2 separate regions of the Homo sapiens genome follow, and region 2 is linked to region 1. Evidence: promoter capture Hi-C in human tissues and cell types (Jung and others, 2019). All regions are on one chromosome and are shown on one strand. Each heading gives the region's core, a stretch centred on a gene start or on the middle of the fragment in contact. The rest is flanking DNA. Distances are from core to core; before and after follow the strand shown. Region 1 holds the start of EMC9 (ER membrane protein complex subunit 9). Region 2 has its middle 6.6 kb from the start of JPH4.

Evidence for each region. The method cuts DNA at HindIII sites, captures the fragments that hold promoters and counts their contacts. A contact is called where the count stands out against the background at its distance.
Region 2: a fragment that was not itself captured here is called in contact with the fragment with the promoter of EMC9 in region 1 in 1 of the 25 tissues and cell types used here (hippocampus).

What each region holds. Positions count from the first base shown.
Region 1 is chr14:24,140,150-24,144,524 of GRCh38, reverse strand. It overlaps EMC9 (ER membrane protein complex subunit 9), which reads left to right and starts at 2,934. Exons shown (of 6, transcript NM_016049.4): 1 at 2,934-3,087; 2 at 3,209-3,418; 3 at 3,560-3,636. The coding sequence starts at 3,221. It overlaps PSME2 (proteasome activator subunit 2), which reads left to right. Exons shown (of 11, transcript NM_002818.3): 7 at 57-125; 8 at 266-333; 9 at 496-550; 10 at 854-940; 11 at 1,036-1,160. The coding sequence ends at 1,116. It overlaps MIR7703 (microRNA 7703), which reads left to right and starts at 960; the gene lies at 960-1,036. RefSeq lists a silencer at 3,011-3,100. The HindIII fragment of the contact is 5,248 bases long and covers 1-4,375 here.
Region 2 is chr14:23,583,249-23,587,602 of GRCh38, reverse strand. No RefSeq gene overlaps it. Among named protein-coding and RNA genes, the nearest start is that of JPH4, 6.6 kb to the right of the region's middle. RefSeq lists an enhancer at 1,958-2,457. The HindIII fragment of the contact is 8,014 bases long and covers 1-4,354 here.

The DNA of each region.
Region 1 (4,375 bases), core at 1,685-4,184:
TAGGAAGAACTCAGTATGTTTGTTGAATGATTCTTACATGATACCTCTTAACACAGGTGATTACATGGATCCAACACCTGATCCCCAAGATTGAAGATGGAAATGATTTTGGGGTAGCAATCCAGGTAAGAAAAGGGTAACTGAAGATACTTAGAGTGGGGAGAGCCTCAGGGGGTGAGCTAGACATGAACCAGGAGGAGGAGGAAGATAGTGTATGAAATGGGGAGGACATGAAGTGTTGTCTTTGCCTCCCGTGTCACCACAGGAGAAGGTGCTGGAGAGGGTGAATGCCGTCAAGACCAAAGTGGAAGCTTTCCAGACAACCATTTCCAAGTGAGGGCAGCTGGAGGACCAGCATTGGGGGCAGTAGGAGCATTTCTTTGGGACCCCCAGAGCTGGGCAGCCCTATCAGGATGATGGGAGACTTTGGGAAGGGTCTGAGGGAGTACATCTCCCTGAACACTCATTCCTGTGGTATTCCCTTGCTTCTGGCAGGTACTTCTCAGAACGTGGGGATGCTGTGGCCAAGGCCTCCAAGGAGACTCATGTAGTGAGTGGATAGTCCACCAGCCTTTTAGCTGGGTGTGGGACGAGGAGGTGTGGAGGAAGAAGTCCTCCTTGTCTTGTTTGTGACTTTCCCAATGTGGAGAATATTAAGCTAAAAGCATTACCTAGAAAAACTGGTTTGGGCTTCAACAACCTTGACCCTTTTCTCTGCTCAGTCCTTTGGGATCCTATTTCTTGGTGCTAAGAAGGGGTTCATTCTCAAGTTAACCTATTTCCTATAAAAGGAAACCAGACTCATGTCCCAGCCTCCCATGGGACTGACTCAGCTTTGCCTCCCACATTGCAGATGGATTACCGGGCCTTGGTGCATGAGCGAGATGAGGCAGCCTATGGGGAGCTCAGGGCCATGGTGCTGGACCTGAGGGCCTTCTATGTGAGTGTGGAGTAAGGCTTTAGGGGAGGTGGATGAGTGGGGGCAGGCAGGGGATTGGCTAAGAACCTGACTCTTGCACTCTGGCCTTCTCCCAGGCTGAGCTTTATCATATCATCAGCAGCAACCTGGAGAAAATTGTCAACCCAAAGGGTGAAGAAAAGCCATCTATGTACTGAACCCGGGACTAGAAGGAAAATAAATGATCTATATGTTGTGTGGATTCCCTTCTGGCGTGTGTCATTCATTCAAAAAGCATTTATTGAGTGGCACCTATGTCCAGCCTGAAGATGAATGTGGTGGGAAGGGGTGGGTGTCACAAAGACAAAGATGACTTAGATGCCCACTGTAATCTTGACTGTGAGAAAGAGGGGATTCAGGCCCTTTCTCATCCAGTAGTCAATGTGCCATCTCCCCTTCCCTAGTCACCTCTTATCTCACTTACCTTCTTTCTTCTCCTGCTTATCTGTTTCCATCTAAGGCAAAAAGGGGGGAAAGTAGCTTTAGAAAAGTCACAGAGGTTGAAGGGCTATCTTCTCCATTGGGTTTATAGTCCAAGTCCTTCACCCTGAGTGCCTAGGGTGGGGATTGTTACATGCCATGGCAGCCATGCAGATAACCTGTATTTTGGAATGTAACAGTATTATTTTCATCCAGAGGTCTCAGGAATTATTGGAAGAGATGGCATTTGCACAGAGCCCTTATGGGAATAATCAGGCTTTGGATACACAAGGGGAAAGTTCTGTGGTCAACATCAGGAATGAAGAAAGAAAGAATCCTCATCAGTTCAGGAAAAGCCTAGAAGGAGAATAAGGTTTCACTGGGAGAACTATGGAGAACTACGGATGAATGATTGGACTCCCCCCACCCTTTTTTTTTTTTTTTTGAGATGGAGTCTTGCTCTGTTGCCCAGGCTGGAGTGCAATGGCACGATCTCAGCTTACTGCTACCTCCGTCTCCCGGGTTCAAGCAATTCTCCTGCCTCAGCCTCCCGAGTAGCTGGAATTACAGGCATGTGCCACCACACCTGGCTAATTTTTTTGTATTTTTAATAGAGACGGGGTTTCGCCATGTTGGCCAGGCTGGTCTCGAACTCCTGACCTCAGGCGATCCACCCACCTCGGCCTCCCAAAGTGCTGGGATTACAAGGCGTGAGCCACCGCGCCGGGCCTGGACTCCCTCCTTAAGGGCTAGGAGGGGAAAAAATAATGCTTCCAAGGCACTGTGGTGAAGGAAATACATCGCAGGACATTATGGGAAGGATGAATCTGTAAGTTTTTCTTACTGTCCTCCCCCATATCCCCTTCAGCCAATCACTGTCTTTATCTCTGCTTTTCAAGATTCAGCCCTGGGCTGGTGATAGAGACAAGGGTTCCTTTGCTGTGATCTTGCTGTAAACTCCATGGGATTGTTCTTTAATTCAGGGCCTTATCCTGTCATAAAATATGAGATAAGAATGTGCTGCGAAGCACTAGACTGGCTGGAAGCCTGCCCCCATACATATCTCATTAAATCCTTAAAGGAACACGGGCAAAAGATAAACCAAGGGCAAGAAAACCTGCAGTCGCGAAGGCAACACGGCCCATTAGTAAGTGACAGAGCCGATCTAGAGTACAGAGCCACTCAACCCATAATAGGCGCAAGGCGGTCTGCTTTGCCCGCAGCGCTCCGGAACACCCGGCTACGGGATAGCGATCCATCCTTGGGGCTCGGCGGAGCGAGTGGTAGTGGGCAACACAGGTAACAGGCAAAGCCAACCACCAACCGAGAGCGGAAGTCGGGGAACCTAGCCAATAAGAGTGCGGGCAATTTTCTGTGCTTCACAATGGTGGGTTCTTTCCAGTCCGCTGGAGACAAAGGCGGGGCAACGTTGGGGCGCGGCCGCTGATTGGACAAATTGAAAGCCTTTAGCCCTATCAAGGAGCACCACGTGGGCGGGACTCCAGGAGCCAGTTCTGCAGGGAGCTGCAGTTTGGTCTGTCTCCCAGGCAGGCGCAGAGTCGCGGCCGCCAGCTAGGGGCGCGGGAAGGCGGGGCTCGGATGCAATCGGGACCTCCTCCTGGACTGGGCCGGGGGCGGACTCCGGGACCCAGGGCGCCGGGAGCCGGCGGGCTACCTGCGAGTCGAGTTAGCGTTGTCGCCGAACCGAAGTGAGAGGGCACGGGGAAGGGTCAAAGAGCGTGCCGAAGCGCTGGAGGGAGCTTCACGGACGCGAGCTAGGCACCGGCTCGCCTAATCCGGTACTAATCCGGCTTGCTGCTTCCCGTCCAGGCCTCGCTCGCCATGGGGGAGGTGGAGATCTCGGCCCTGGCCTACGTGAAGATGTGCCTGCATGCTGCCCGGTACCCACACGCCGCAGTCAACGGGCTGTTTTTGGCGCCAGCGCCGCGGTCTGGAGAATGCCTGTGCCTCACCGACTGTGTGCCCCTCTTCCACAGCCACCTGGCCCTGTCCGTCATGTTGGAGGTCGCCCTCAACCAGGTGCCTCCGTTGGATGCCCATCCCCCACCGCGAACCCACCCAACACCCCAGCCCAAGTTCATCCCCGGTCCCTTGGCAGCAGTGCGCATCCACAAAGCCAGCGGCACAATTTAATTACTGATGGCCCCTTTCCTACGACAGGTGGATGTGTGGGGAGCACAGGCCGGTCTGGTGGTGGCTGGTTACTACCATGCCAATGCAGCTGTGAACGATCAGAGGTGAGTGGCGTAGCCAGAGGAAGAAGGAAAGGATTATGGCGGGTTGGGGATTGGAGGAATAGAGGGCGAGGATGCGTGGGGCGGTGGGCGGGGCGGGGGCGCACAAGATGAACCAAGGTCGTTCCTTTTATCTTTCCTTCATCAAACGCTTAGGAGCAGGGGCTTTACACCAGGCACTATGCTGGGTACTGGAGTGAGGGAATATAAAGATGAATAGGACAGAGCCCTGCCCTGGAGTGCCGTTGGGGCGGGGAGGACAACTGTGTATCAACAGACTGATTTTTTTTTTTTTTTTGAGACGGAGTCTCCCTCTGTCTCCCAGGCTGGAGTGCAGTGGCGCAATCTCGGCTCACTGGAACTTCCACCTCCTAGATTCAAGCGATTCTCCTGCCTCAGCCTCCCGAGTAGCTGGGATCACAGATGAGCGCCACCATGCCCGGCTAATTTTTTTTATTTTTTTAATTTATTATTATTTTTTATTTTTAGTAGAGATGGGGTTTCGCCATGTTGGCCAGGCTGGTCTAGAACTTGACCTCAGGTGATCCACGCGCCTCGGACTCCCAAAGTGCTGGGATTACAGGCGTGAGCCACCACTCTCGGCCAACAGACTGATCTTGCTTTAACTGAGGTGTCCCCCAGGGGCTGAAAGAACAGAGAAATCCCAACCAGCAACTTCAAAAATAAGGCAGTTTCCTTATATATATACATATAGGAAAAGACATATATATATATATATATA
Region 2 (4,354 bases), core at 1,811-4,310, 560 kb after region 1:
CATGGCGAAACCCTGTCTCTACTAAAAATACAAAAATTAGTCTGGGCAAGGTGGCTCACACCTGTAATCCCAGCACTTTTGGAGGCCGAGGCGGGTGGATCACCTGAGGTCAGGAGTTCAAGACCAGCCTGAACGACATGGTGAAACCCGTCCTCTACTAAAAATACAAAATTAGCCAGGCGTGGTGGTGCCCACCTGTAACCCCAGCTATTCGGGAGGCTGAGGCAGGAGAATCGCTTGAACCTGGGAGGTGGAGGTTACAGTGAGCCGAGATCATGCCATTGCACTCCTGCCTGGGTGACAAGAGTGAGACTCTGTCTCAAAAAAAGAAAAAAAAATTAGCCAGGCATGGTGGTAGGAGCCTGTAATCCCTCCTACTCAAGAGGCTGGGGCAGGAGAATTGCTTGAACCTAGGAGGGGAGGGGTTCAGTGAGGCGAGATCACGCCACTGCACTCCAGCCTAGGAGACAGAGCAAGATTTCATCTCAAAAAAAAAAAAAAAAGTCCTCTCAGCCCAAAATCTCCTTAAGCTGATAAGCAACTTCAGCAAAGTCTCAGGATACAAAATCAATGTGCAAAAATCACAAGCATTCCTATACACAGACAAACAGACAAACAGAAAGCCAAATCATGAGTGAACTCCCATTCACAATTGCTACAAAGAAAATAAAATACCTAGGAATACAACTTACAAGGGATGTGAAGGACCTCTTCAAGGAGAACTACAAACCACTGCTCAAGGAAATAAGAGAGGATACAAACAAATGGAAAAACATTCCATGCTCATGGATAGGAAGAATCAGTATCGTGAAAATGGCCATACTGCCCAAAGTAATTTATACATTCAATGCTATCCCCATCAAGCTACCATTGACTTTCTTCACAAAATTGGAAAAAACTACTTTAAACTTCATATGGAACCAAAAAAGAACCCACATAGACAAGACAATCTTAAGCAAAAAGAACAAAGTTGGAGGCATCATGCTACCTGACTTCAAACTATACTACAAGGCTATAGTAACCAAAACATCATGGTACTGGTACCAAAACAGATATATAGACCAATGGAACAGAACAGAGCCCTCAGAAATAACACCACACATCTACAACCATCTGATCTTTGACAAACCTGACACAAACAAGCAATGGGGAAAAGTTTCCCTATTTAATAAATGGTGTTGGAAAAACTGGCTAGCCATATGCAGAAAACTGAAACTAGACCCCTTCTTTACACCTTACACAAACATCAACTCAAGATGGATTAAAGACTTAAACATAAGATCTAAAGCCATAAAAATCCTAGAAGAAAACCTGGGCAATACCATTCAGGACGTAGGCATGGGCAAAGACTTCATGAGTAAAACACCAAAAGCAATGGCAACAAAAGCCAAAATTGACAAATGGAATCTAATTAAACTAAAGAGCACAGCAAAAGAAACTATCATCAGAGTGAAAGGCAACCTACAGAATGGGAGAAAATTTTTGCAATCTATCCATCTGACAAAGGTCTAATATCCAGAATCTACAAAGAACTTAAACAAATTTACAAGAAAAAACAACCCCAGTAAAAAGTGGGCAAAGGATATGAACAGACACTTCTCAAAAGAAGACATTTATACAGCCAACAAACATATGAAAAAATGCTCATTATCACTGGTCATTAGAGAAATGCAAATCAAAACTACAAGGAGATACTATCTCACACCAGTTAGAATGGCAAACATTAAAAAGTCAGGAAACAACAGATGCTGGAGAGGATGTGGAGAAATAGGAACACTTTTACACTGTTGGTGGGAGTGTAAATTAGTTCAAACATCGTGGAAGACAGTGTGGCGATTCCTCAAGGATCTAGAACCAGAAATACCATTTGACCTAGCAATCCCATTACTGGGTATATACCCAAAGGATTATAAATCATTCTACTATAAAGACACATGCACACATATGTTTATTGCGGCACTATTCACAATAGCAAAGACTTGGAACCAACCTGAATGTCCATGAATGATAGAATGGATAAAGAAAATGTGGTACATATACACCATGGAATACTATGCAGCCATAAAAAAAGGATGAGTTCATGTCCTTTGCAGGGACATAGATGAAGCTGGAAACCATCATTCTCAGCAAACTATCACAAGAACAGAAAACCAAATGAGAGGTGACAGCATGCTGGCAGTCCTCAGAGCCCTCGCTTGCTCTCGGCACCTCCCCTGCCTGGGCTCCCACTTTGGTGGCATTTGAGGAGCCCTTCAGCCCCCCACTGCACTGTGGGAGCCCCTTTCTGGGCTGGCCAAGGCCGGAGCCCACTCCCTCAGCTTGCAGGGAGGTGTGGAGGGAGAGGCACCAGTGGGAACCGGGGCTGCATGCGGCGCTTGTGGGCCAGCTGGAGTTCCGGGTGGGCGTGGGCTTGGCGGGCCCCGCACTCGGAGCAACCAGCCAGCCCTGCTGGCCCCGGGCAATGGGGGACTTAGCACCCGGGCCAGTGGCTGCGGAGGGTGTACTGAGTCCCCCAGCAGTGCTGGCCCACCGGCGCTGCGCTCGATTTCTTGCCAGGGCCTTAGCTGCCTTCCCATGGGGCAGGACTCGGGACCTGCAGCCCGCCATGCCTGAGCCTCCCACCCACTCCATGGTTTCCTGTGCGGCCCGAGCCTCCCCGACGAGCACCACCCCCTGCTCCACTGCGCCCAGTCCCATCGACCACCCAAGGGCTGAGGAATGCGAGCACACGGTGCAGGACTGGCAGGCAGCTCCACCTGCAGCCCCGGTGCAGGATCCACTAGGTGAAGCCAGCTGGGCTCCTGAGTCTGGTGGGGACGTGGAGAGTCTTTATATCTAGCTCAGGGATTGTAAATACACCAATCAGCACTCTGTGTTTAGCTCAAGGTTTGTGAGTGCACCAATCGACACTCTGTATCTAGCTGCTCTGGTGAGGACATGGAGAACCTTTATGTCTAGCTCAAGGATTGTAAATACACCAATCGGCACTCTGTATCTATCTCAAGGTTTGTAAACACACCAATCAGCACCCTGTGTTTAGCTGAAGGTTTGTGAGTGCACCAATCGACACTCTGTATCTAGCTGCTCTGGTGGGGCCTTGGAGAACCTGTGTGTTGAAACTCTGTATCTAACTAATCTGATGGGGACGTGGAGTCTTTATATCTAGCTCAGGGATTGTAAACGCACCAATCAGCACCCTGACAAAACAGGCCACTCAGCTCTACCAATCAGCAGGATGTGGGTGGGGCCAGATAAGAGAATAAAAGCAGGCTGCCCGAGCCAGCATTGGCAACCCGCTCGGGTCCCCTTCCACACTGTGGAAGCTTTGTTCTTTCACTCTTTGCAATAAATCTTGCTACTGCTCACGCTTTGGGTCCACGCTCCTTTTATGAGCTGTAACACTCACCGTGAAGATCTGCAGCTTCACTCCTGAACCCAGCGAGACAACGAGCCCACCAGGAGGAACGAACAACTCCAGACGCGCTACCTTAAGAGCTGTAACACTCACCGCGAAGGTCTGCAGCTTCACTCCTGAGCCAGCGAGACCACGAACCCACCAGAAGGAAGAAACTCAGAGCACATCTGAACATCAGAAGGAACAAACTTCAGACGCGCCACCTTAAGAGCTGTAACACTCACCACGAGGGTCCGCGGCTTCATTCTTGAAGTCAGTGAGACCAAGAACCCACCAACGCCGGACACACAAACACTGCATGTTCTCACTCATAAGTGGGAGTTGAACAAGGAGAACACATGGACACAGGAAGGGTAATATCACACACTGTGGCCTGTAGGGGGGTGGGGGGCTATGGGACGGACAGCATTAGGAGAAATACCTAATGTAGGTGATGGGTTGATGGGTGCAGCAAACCACCATGGCACGTGTATACCTATGTAACAAACCTGCACCTTCTGCACATGTACCCCAGAACTTAAAGTATAATAAAAAAAAATGCTTACAATGAAAACTAAGTGAATAAGTAGGATACAAAATTGTATATGCACTGTTTTTAATTATGTTAAAAGTACATAGAAGACTATATAAAAATATACTAAACTGTTATACAGTGAGACTAGGGGTGGTTTTAATTTTTATTCTTGATATGCTGTATTTTCTTATTCTACAATGAGCATGTTTTATAAACAGGACCCCCAAAATTGCATTTGTTAAAGCATATTAACTTGGGAGTCTGATATATATCAAGCTCCAAGGGCTGCCATCTATTAGCTGGGCAACATTAAGCAAATTAACTGCTGGGTCCCAGATTTCTCACCTATAAAACTGGCATAATGCCAATCTATTTTTCAAGCCATTATTTACTGGGCACTCACTATGTGCTGGACACTATGCCAA